Linked DNA regions of Homo sapiens: regions 2, 3 and 4 are each linked to region 1. The links are contacts of gene promoters, found by promoter capture Hi-C in human tissues and cell types (Jung and others, 2019). All regions are on one chromosome and are shown on one strand. The core of a region is centred on a gene start or on the middle of the fragment in contact, and the rest is flanking DNA. Distances in the headings are between cores, read along the strand shown. Region 1 holds the start of ARHGAP44 (Rho GTPase activating protein 44). Region 2 has its middle 180 kb from the start of MIR744. Region 3 has its middle 110 kb from the start of MIR744. Region 4 has its middle 160 kb from the start of MIR744.

The links. Contacts are between HindIII fragments. The study calls those that stand out against the background at their distance.
Region 2: a fragment that was not itself captured here is called in contact with the fragment with the promoter of ARHGAP44 in region 1 in 2 of the 25 tissues and cell types used here (lymphoblastoid cells and mesendoderm cells).
Region 3: a fragment that was not itself captured here is called in contact with the fragment with the promoter of ARHGAP44 in region 1 in 4 of the 25 tissues and cell types used here (H1 embryonic stem cells, dorsolateral prefrontal cortex, mesendoderm cells and 1 more).
Region 4: a fragment that was not itself captured here is called in contact with the fragment with the promoter of ARHGAP44 in region 1 in 2 of the 25 tissues and cell types used here (bladder and mesenchymal stem cells).

What each region holds. Positions count from the first base shown.
Region 1 is chr17:12,788,227-12,790,926 of GRCh38, reverse strand. It overlaps ARHGAP44 (Rho GTPase activating protein 44), which reads right to left and starts at 1,429. Exons shown (of 21, transcript NM_014859.6): 1 at 1,036-1,429. The coding sequence starts at 1,088. ARHGAP44-AS1 (ARHGAP44 and MYOCD antisense RNA 1) reads left to right here and starts at 643. Exons shown (of 2, transcript NR_104607.1): 1 at 643-784. RefSeq lists a silencer at 1,153-1,502. The HindIII fragment of the contact is 5,339 bases long and covers 1-2,700 here.
Region 2 is chr17:12,260,128-12,262,827 of GRCh38, reverse strand. No RefSeq gene overlaps it. Among named protein-coding and RNA genes, the nearest start is that of MIR744, 180 kb to the right of the region's middle. The HindIII fragment of the contact is 8,212 bases long and covers 1-2,700 here.
Region 3 is chr17:12,190,784-12,193,483 of GRCh38, reverse strand. No RefSeq gene overlaps it. Among named protein-coding and RNA genes, the nearest start is that of MIR744, 110 kb to the right of the region's middle. The HindIII fragment of the contact is 4,684 bases long and covers 1-2,700 here.
Region 4 is chr17:12,243,452-12,246,151 of GRCh38, reverse strand. No RefSeq gene overlaps it. Among named protein-coding and RNA genes, the nearest start is that of MIR744, 160 kb to the right of the region's middle. The HindIII fragment of the contact is 3,829 bases long and covers 1-2,700 here.

The DNA.
Region 1 (2,700 bases), core at 180-2,679:
CAAGGCTGGATTCTTTGCTTTCTGATTGCTTTAGAACAGCACACCTGAATTCCTTTGCCACAGCAGCAACGGAAATCCCTCCCCAGGAGTAGGGGTTCCAGGAAAAATCCCTTCTACCTAACGCTCCTGTGTTCAAAGAATGTCTAGTCTTGGGAGCGACCCACCAGGATTTTTATGTAACCTTAATAGATGTTGGCACCCTGCAGAGCCGCTCCTGGAGTCCAGATGTAGCCCATTTTCACCGTGATGGCAGCAGGCGGGGTCTTGCAGCTTCCCGGGGCCTGACTCTTCTGACTGTGGGGCCTCTGTCCCCCTCCCCTACCTGGCTGCGATTCTCTGCTTATCTCATCTTCCCGAGGACTTGGGCCTCCTTTTTGCAGCCTCCCTCCCTCCACTGAAATCAGTCCTAACATCAAGCAGGCAGCAACGCCATTCCACCAGCACCTTCCTTCCTCTCCCACCCCTCACCCTTTCCCCCCACCAAACGCCTTAAGAAACCCGGCCAGGAAAGTGATCCAGAATCTCGTACAGTCATAGTCCCTGAAAACAAACACGGCGGGAGGGGCAGGCCGACCAGGCCCAGCACTTTCCCTGGACCCGGGAGCAGCCCTGAACTCGGCGCAGGGGAGGGGAGGGAAGAGATCTCCGGAGACCGACTGCGGTTCGGCTGCCTCCAGCACAATCAGAGCAAACACCTGTTTCCAGGAAGACAGGCGGCCAGAGGGAGAAGGGAGTCCCGGGGAAAGGCAGGGAGGACGAAGCGAAGGGGCAGCCGGGGACGCAGGTAAAGGATGCGTCACACTTTGCGCTTGGCAACCGGAGCCCGGAGCAGAAGGCGGCGAGTGAGAAGAGCTCCGGGGTCTGGGAAGTTAGGGAGGAGGGGTCGCGCCTGCGAGCGGCGCCTGGAGGGAGCTGGTGCAGGGGAAAGGACTGAGGCAAGGAGGACTGGAGGCTGGGCGGGCTCCATCACCTGCGCGCCCCTGCGGATGCAGCCTCGCGGGCGCGCACCGACAGCGGTGCCCGCGGGTGACCTACCTGCCCACCGTCTGGTTGGCCAGCTGGCGCATGCGATTGAACTGCTTCTTCATCGTGGCCCCGCTGCCGCGCTAGCCCGGGAGCTGGGGAAGGACGGAGCAGCCCGGAGCCCGCCGCAGGGTTACATGGCTCCCGCGCGGAGCCTCCCGGGCGACGGCGGCGGCACTGCGGAGCCTCCGGGCGCCGTCTGGCCCGCGCGCAGCTCCCTCCCGAGGGCGCCGCCGCCTACTCCTCCCGCCGCGCCGCCTCCTGCCGCATCCCCCTCACGCGCGCCGCGCAATGCCCGGGGCAGAGCAATGCCTGGGGCCGTCCTCGGCACCGGCCCGCTCCGCCCGGGCTGCCTGCTCCCAGTCCCAGTCCGGCGCGGGGACCCGGGAGTCTCCGCAGGCTGGCTGGCCGGCTGGCCCGGCGGTCCCCGTGCGCCTGTGCGGAGAACGCCGTGCATGCCGGGACTTGTAGTTTCGCGCCCCGTGCCCACCTTTCCTCTGTCCAAAGTTTGCAAGGACAGTGGAGTGCGGAGGTGGGAGAAGGCAGCGTCACCAGCAGCTTTGCACTTTAGCGTTCGAGTAAGGGAAACGTTTTCCTGTTTTAAAAATGGCAAAGTGGGACCAAGAATACAACAGCAAATAAAGAAAGTGAGCATCTGTCTCTCATTGTATTTTTAGTGAATGTGAGGTATCAGTGTTCTGAATTCACAGAAGGGAGATTTATGCTAGCAGATACGTGGCTGATAAAACGGTCTAAGGTCACCTGATTAATGATGAGGTTCAAGGTTAAGCTTGAAACACAGGGGCTGACAGCAGATTTTGAACAGGCATAGCTTGCATCCCAGAAGTCTGATTCTTAATTTTTACCAAACCAAACCCATTAGGTAACCAGAAGCCAATATAGATAAGTGACGTTGTGCTTACTGGCCCAACCTGTCTGAGACAGCTTTTTTGTATGGCTTAGATGCCAATCTCGTATCTAGTCCCATTTCCCTTCCACCACCAGGAGACCAAGGGGCATCAGCTGCAGCACCCCCCAAGTGTCCTGCACCACAGCATCCCATTGGCGTCAGTTGACTCCTTGGAAGGGGTTGTGGCTTCTTTGGTCTCTATCCTTAGAAAAAGATAGGTGAGCCGGGCGCGGTGGCTCACGCTTGTAATCCCAACAGTTTGGGAGGCCAAGGAGGGTGGATCACGAGGTCAGGAGTTCGACACCAGCCTGGCCAACACAGTGAAACCCTGTCTCTGCTAAAAATACAAAAATTAGCTGGGCGTGGTGGCGGGCACCTGTAATCCCAGCTACTTGGGAGGCTGAGGCAGGAGAATAGCTTGAACCTGGGAGGTGGAGGTTGCAGTGAGTGGAGATCGCGCCATTGCACGCCAGCCTGGGTGACAGAGCTAGACTCCATCTCAAAAAACAAAAAAAAAAGAAAAGAAAAAAAAGAAAAAGATTGGTGATTGCAGTTAGGTTTTATCATTATATATCAAGGTTTTATCATTATATATCAAGTAAAAGCAGTATTGTTGGGTGTGAGGCACTTTGGATTAAACAGATAGGAGTTCCTGCATCAGAATTCCACATACCTGTTATATAACCTTAGGAAAACAGCTTAACCTCTCCAAACCTCTGTTTCCTCATCCCTAAATAGAAAAATATGCTGCCTGATCTTCAGTAAGA
Region 2 (2,700 bases), core at 79-2,578, 530 kb after region 1:
AGTTAAATTCCACCACCGTTTATATGTAAATGTAATATATGTAACTCCACCACCATTATATATATGTGATATATATATAATTCCACCATTTATATATGTGATAAATATAATTTAACCATCGTCAATATATATAGTGATATATACATGATACGTACTATAGAGATATCACATGTGTAATATATACAAGATATCACGTGTGATATATACGATAGAGATATCACATGTGTGATATATACGATAGATATGTGTGCTATATATGAGATATGTGTGATATATATGATAGAGATATATGTGTGATATCTATGATAGAGATATCAGGTGTGATATATATGATAGAGATATCATGTGTGATATATATGATACAGATATGTGTGATATATATGATAGAGATGTGTGATATATGATAGAGATATGTGTGATGATAGATATATGTGTGATATATATGCTAGATATCATGTGTGATATATATGCTAGAAATATCATGTGTGATATATATGCTAGAGATATCATGTGTGATATATGCTAGATATCATGTGTGATATATATGCTAGAGATATATGTGTGATATGATAGATATGTGTGATATATATGATAGATATCATGTGTGATATATGATAGATATGTGTGATATATATGATAGAGATATGTGTGATATATATGATAGAGCTATCATGTGAGATATATATATGTGTGATATATGATAGAGATATCATGTGTGATATATATGTGTGATATATGATAGATATGTATGATATATATGATAGAGATATGTGTGATATATGATAGAGCTATCATGTGAGATATATATGATAGCGATATCTGTGATATGATAGAGATATCATGTGTGATATATGATAGACATGTGTGATATATGAGAGATATATGTGTGATATATATGATAGAGATGTGTGATATATGATAGAGATATCACACGTGTGATATATATGATAGAGATCACACATGTGAGATATGATAGAGATATCACACGTGAGATATATGAGATATCACACGTGTGAGATATATGATAGAGATATCACACGTGAGATATACACATCACACATGTGATATATGAGATATCACACGTGAGATATATATCACACGTGTGAGATATGATAGATATCACACGTGTGAGACATATGATAGATATCACACGTGTGAGACATATGATAGATATCACACGTGAGCTATGAGATATCACACGTGTGATATGATAGATATCACACGTGTGAGATATATGACAGATATCACGTGTGATGAGATATCACACGTGTGAGATATGATAGAGATATCACATGTGTGATATGAGATATCACGTGTGAGATATATGAGATCATGTGTGAGATACAATAGAGATATCATGTGTGAGATATATGATACAGATATGTGTGATATGAGATATCATGTGTGATATATATGGTAGAGATATATGTGACATGACATACATATCACACATATCTGAATAGGATATATATGAGATATATATATATAATATTCTGCCACATGTATATGGTGAGCCATGGAAGTCTGCGTAGCTAGGCATATATGTGATATATATGAAAAAGGAAGAAAATTCTGACACGTTACAATATGTGTCGGCTTTGAGGACCTTATGCTAAATTAAATCAGTCACAAAACAAAAAATACTGTATGATTCCACTTATAGGATGTATTTAGAGTGGTCAAATTATTAGACAGAAACTAGAAAGGTGGTTGCCAGGGACCGAGAATAGGGCAAATGCAGACTTAGTGTTTCCTGGGCACAGAGTTTCAGTTTGGGAAGATAAAAAAGCTCTGGAGATGGATGGTGCTGATGGCTGCAGACCACCATTAGGTACATTATGAATGTACTTAATACCACTGAACTGGACCCTTTTGAGATGATACATTTTATGTTATTTGTATTTCAACACAATTTTAATTTTTTTGTGTTGGGTTCAGAAATAAAAATAATTTGAGATCAGGAACAGCAGAAAAGACATCACAGATGAATACATATTTGGGTAGCTTGACTGGACCTCCAAAGTCAAGTAGAAGTCCAGCAGGTGGGGGTGTTATGGAGCCACACATTCCAGGAAGAGGAATTGCAGGAGAGGGTGAAGCTTGCTTGGGGACGCCTGGAAGTCTGTGTAGCTGGTGCCAACAGTCTGCATGAAGAACTGATGGAAGAAAAGAATGGAAAGATGCACCAAAGAGAGTGTGCAGCCAGGCACAGTGGCTCAGGCCTGTAATCCCAGCACTTTGGGAGGCCAAGGCAGGCGGATCTCCTGAGGTCAGGAGTTTGAGACCAGCCTGGCCAACATGGTGGAACCCCATCTCTACTAAAAATACAAAAATTAGCTGGGCATGGTGGCATGCGCCTATAATCCTAGCTACTCAGGAGGCTGAGGCAGGAGAATCGCTTGAACCCAGGAGGCAGAGGTTGCAGTTAGCCGAGATCATGCCATTGCACTCCAGCCTGGGCAACAAGAGCAAAACTCCGTCTCAAAAAAAAGGAACAAAAAAAGAGAGAGAGAGAGAAAGAGTGTGTGCAAAATCTTTCATGGCAGGAGTCTGGGCTTTCCTCTCTGAACTAGATGTCACTCAGTTCCCCGAGGCACCCGTGGGCCCTCACATCTCTTAAAGGAGTCACACTTCAGTTTGGCTTAAGAGAGAATCTGAGTCAGCCTTAAGTGGAAAATGCTGCTACCTCAACTAAGACAC
Region 3 (2,700 bases), core at 190-2,689, 600 kb after region 1:
ACATGCATCTCCTGCATCTGGGGGTAAAACCTTACAGAGAATTCTATGGGCTGCAATAAATAATTCCTGGTCTTCCTGGAAAGGAGCTCTGTGAACAGACAGGGTAGGGTCACTGCAGATTTATGACTGCATCCTTGAGGTAGCAGGCTATCCACAGCCCAGGGCAGAGGCCTACAAGACAGGTAGGAGGTCCAAGGAAGCCATGTTGCAAAAGGACAGTTGGCCCTAGGGCTGTGACACCTGGCACCTCAAAAGCCATGTGACAGATGTTTTCATTTCCTAGCCTTTTTTACTGCTACTTCCACTGCCAGAAAAAGAACTTGAGTTTTATTGAAATGTGAGTGTGTTTGCCGACAGTCATTCAAGCCTGATACCAAGGACACTGAGAAAAGCTTCTATTATGGTGAATAAAACTTCTGGCTACTCAGCATGCCCAGAAGTTGGCCTCAGATGAACTGTATCCTGGGGGAAGACTGACTCCCCATCTGCCTTCTCCTCACTCATGTTTCTCATTTTCCATTGCATTCATCTGTCTCTTGGCTTTCTTACTCTCCCTTTCTCTCATTCTCTTTCTTTCCCTCTCTTCCCCTGCTTAATTTTGCTATGAAAACCTCCTTCTTCTACATAGTCTTGGGTAGATTACCTTACCTCTGAGGCTCTTAGTTTTCTCACCTGCAAAATAATGGTGTTAGACCAAGTGTTTCTCAAACTTCAATGCCTAATGATTCATCTGAAGATGTTAAAATATAGATTCTGATTTAGTAGGCCTGGCCTAGGGCCCAATATTCTGCATCTCTAAAAAAAACTCCCAGGTGATTGCAACGTGGGCCACACTTTAAGTAGGGGGAACTATGGATGGCAAAGAATCCTCACCTGCAGTGCCGTCTCTAACAGTATTGGGAATACCAGGATGCATCTGACCTCAGTGCGGGGGGAAATGAACGTGAACCATGCATTCAAATTGAGCACATTAAATATTTGCCCTTAATGGAATAAATCATCTCTAAGCATGCTTACAATTCAGTGCTCTAAAACATCTGTGGTTTTCTTCCACAAGGGGCACATCTCAAAACCTGTCCATGTATGAAAGAGTCTGATGACCTCATTGGCTGTGTGTTAATGACAGACTATTCTTCAACACCTTAAAAAAACAAGGAGAACAGGAATAATAAAGGTAAAGGTCAACAAAGCACAGGACAAAGAAAATTATAAACAACTAACAAAACAAGAAGTTGGTTTATAGAAAAGGCTCATAAAGATAAAACTTGGAAAGAATGATCAAGGGACAAAAAAGAAGGTGTAAATAAACACAATAGAGAATATAAATGGAGAAATAACTATAGACACAAAGGATGTTTTAATAATTTAAAGGAATATTATGAACAAGTAAACACCAACAAATGTCAAAACCCAGAAGCAATGAATGAACAATTTTAAAAGTACAAAATGCAAAAAAAATTAATACAAATGAATAGAAAATGTATTTATACCAGTAATGCTTAAGAAATTTAGGAAGTAATAAAAAGACTTCTCTCTAAACCTCATATCCACACAAAGCCAGGTCTAGGTTTTACAGGTTTGCAACCAAACTTTCAAATAAAAACTAATCTTTATGTCAAACAAGTTGTGCCACACACACACACATACACACACACACACACACAAAGAAAACAGAAAAAGAAGGAAAGCTGTCTCACTCGTATGAAAAAAAGTATAACTTTGATAGTAAAACCATACAGGGGAAAATCAAAGAAAGAGGATTATAGGCCAATTTTACTTATGAATATAAATGAGAGTCCTAAATAAAATATTGACTACTACTAAAATCCAACATATATTTTAAAATAAGCCATCATAATCAGACTTTACCTCAGATATTAGGGGATGATTCAACATTAGAACATCTATAAATCTTATTCACAAAGATAAAGTAACAAAGAAAACTCAGAAGATTTTCTTAGTAGACAATGGAAAGCATTTTTATAAGTCAATACATTCTCATTTAAAACTCTTATAAAACAGGAATATAAAAGAGGTTCCTAAATTGATAAAGCCTACCTACAAAAACCCTATAGCAAACACACATAATGGACATGTTAGAAGATAGAAAAGAAAGCAGATATACTTGTTGTAATCACTACTTTTGCCAAGCTTTGAAAGGTCTTGTCTAATTCATTAAAATAAAAAAAAAAGAAAAAGTAAAAGATAGAAAAAAGTGAGAAAACTTGCAATTATTTAAAGACATAATTTTTTTAAATTGTTTAAAAATCTCAGCTTCCAGAAGACAGAATTATTTTTTATTTATTTATTTTTATTTTTTTGAGACAGGGTCTCTCTCTGTCGCTCAGGCTGGAGTGCAGTGGCATGATCTCTGCTTCACTACAACCTCTGCCTCCTGGGTTCAAGGGATTCTTGGGCCTCAGCCTCCCAAGCAGCTGGGATTATAGGCTTGTACCACCATACCTAGGTATTTTTTATATTTTTAGTAAAGATGGGGTTTCGCCATGTTGGCCAGGCTGGTCTTGAACTCCTGGCCTCAAGTGATCTGCCCACCTCGGCCTCCCAAAGTGCTGGGATTACAGGCATGAGCCACCGTGACTGGCCCAGAATGATTGTAAAAGTTGCAATTCTTTGAATTCATTTACTTAGAAATCTCAAAACAATCAAACTAATGAATGTTTGTTGAATTAATGAGAAAAT
Region 4 (2,700 bases), core at 146-2,645, 540 kb after region 1:
TAGCAAGAGTTAGAAACATGCAGACTCTACAACTCACAGTTAACACCAAGCGCACACTAATGAAAATGGGGACACAGTCAAGCTGGCTCTCAACTTCAGGACTAAAGAGTTTGAATAAACATCCACTCTGTATTTGATAAACGCCATCTCTACTCTTCATTTTGGACAAACATAACATTGCTACTGTAAGAATGAACGGGCCGGGTACAGTGGCTCACGCCTGTAATTCCAGCACTCTGGGAGGCCGAGACAGGTCTATCACTTGAGGTCAGGAGTTCAAAACCAGCCTGGCCAACATAGCGAAACCCCGTTTCTACTAAAAATACAAAAATTAGCTGGGTGTGGTGGCATGTGCCTGTAATCCCAGCTACTCAGGAGGCTGAGGCAAGAGAATCACTTGAACCAGGAAGGCGGAAGCTGCAGTGAGTCGAGAAGGCACCACTGCACTCCAGCCTGGTGACAGAGCAAGACTCTGTCTCAAAAGAGAAAAAAAAAAAGAATAAACAAAGAAAAATCACTAAATAAAATGAAAATATCAATTCAAAAGAAGAGAACTAATAAGTTAAAAACATGTATTAGTCCATGAAATAAGAGAAAACTTTTAGGAAAATGTCTTGGCATTTCCAGTCTCATCAAAACTTCTGTTTCCAACTGCCTCTGAGTGGAATCTCAGTGAAAGTGAAGGGCAAATTGCATCTATAAAACTAGAGGAGAAACAGAAAAAAGTCTGAAATCAGGAAAAAGTCTGAAATCAGGAAAAAAATACCTGGAGATGGAAAATACAAACATCAAATTTTAAAACACAGTGGAGGTAATGAGCAGCATATTATGTACTGAAGACAATTAATCAGGGAATTAACACGAGCTCAAGACATTCTCCAAGGATTTGAAGCAAAGCACACACAGAAGTTTCAGCCAATGTACTAAGAAAAAGAAAAGTATAAACATGAAAACAAAGGAATGAATTATCATAATTTGAAAATTTCATAGTTGTAATCTTCCCAGAAATTACCATTGTTATAATTGTAATTTGCTCAAAAACATCTAAAAGCAAGAACTAAGACATTATTCAACTAATAAGATGAGTCAATTAAGTTGACTATTTACAAAGGCAAAAAAACTTAAAAACATGAAAAGCTAATTTAAAACCATGAAAGTTAAATTAACAGTAAACATACAAAATGTATCATCACTAGTTATCAAGTAAGTGCTTAATAAGACAATGGTGTAGTATTTATTATTTATAAATTAGTAAAAAATAATAATTTATCAGTTATTGCCAAGTATAGAGGGAAATGAGCCTTCTGACAAATAGGTGGTGGGAAGATAAATTTATACAACTTTTAGGCAATCTTTTTGTGTCTTAGAATTTTTGCATACATTTTGATCTGGCAACTCTACTTCCAGGAATTTATCATAAGGAAATAATCATGACTGTGCACAAAGATATAGCTACAATGGTTAACATTATAGTACTGCCAGTAATGGTGAATTATTGAAAATAATCTAAATTTCCAACAATAGGAGATTCATTAAATAGATTATGGTATAGCTATATGGTGGGATGATATATACCCATTAAGATAATGTAATAGAAAAAATAATAAAAGAAAACGTTTAAAATATGTAAAAGGGACTTTTAAAGTTATATTTTTTAAAATTCCATTTTATTTTAACATATCTATACATATAAAAAAGAGAGACTGGAACTGTGTACACCAAAGTGTTAAAGTCTAAATGATACAATCATGACTTTTGATTTCTTAATTTTTCTTTCTTGTGTTTTCTAAAAATTCTAAAATTAATATTAAGCAAATATTTTAGAAGCTATCTTAATACTTTTCCCTGAAGTCTCTCTCACAGTTGCAATTTCAAATTAAAATTGCAGATATGACAGAATTTTGAATACAGGATAATAATCTGGTTTCCCTCTAATTTGCAAGGTTTTACACATGTTCAAATAATATATACATGGAGGCATGAAAAGATCAAAGAATGTCAAAGATGTCAGCGTGAAAACATACATCTTTGTGCAGATTTGAACTTCTATATTTATAAAAAGTACAAAAAAAAGACTACAGATAAGAGATGATAGAACTTTTAAAGCTAGAGCCTTGCTGATTTTTCTTTTTTTCTGTATAAATATTAGCTGAATAAGCTGCTCAGTAAGGCCTCCGACCAGTGGAAGTTTCATAATTTGAAAATTGCATAGTTGTAATCTTCCCAGAAATTACCATTGTTATCATTGTAATTTGCTCAAAAAAACTGTAAAAACAAGAACTGTTTTCTGTTCCCAAGGTAAGTAAACTAACTGCCTCTGAGTAGAATCTCAATGAGAGTGAAGAGCAAATTGCATCTATAAAACTAGAGGAGAAACAGAAAAAAGTCTGAAATCAGGAAAAAAAAATACCTGGAGATGGAAAATATAAACATCAAATTTTACAAACATCTCATTTCTCTGCATTTTTCCTATGTTCCTTATCTACCCTGCCCCACCCTCACTCCATTTCTTCTGGAAGCCACCAAAGGTAGGGTGGCCTCTTGTCAGGTGTCCATCACTGCTTGCATGGAAGGAGGAAGGGATTTAAACCCACCTGGTTGGCACAGCTCCTTTGAGCTACACTGAATGTCTGTCACGAGAGGCAGCTGCTTCATCACCTACCTGTCCCTTCACTCACTCAACTGTGCACATACTTTTCT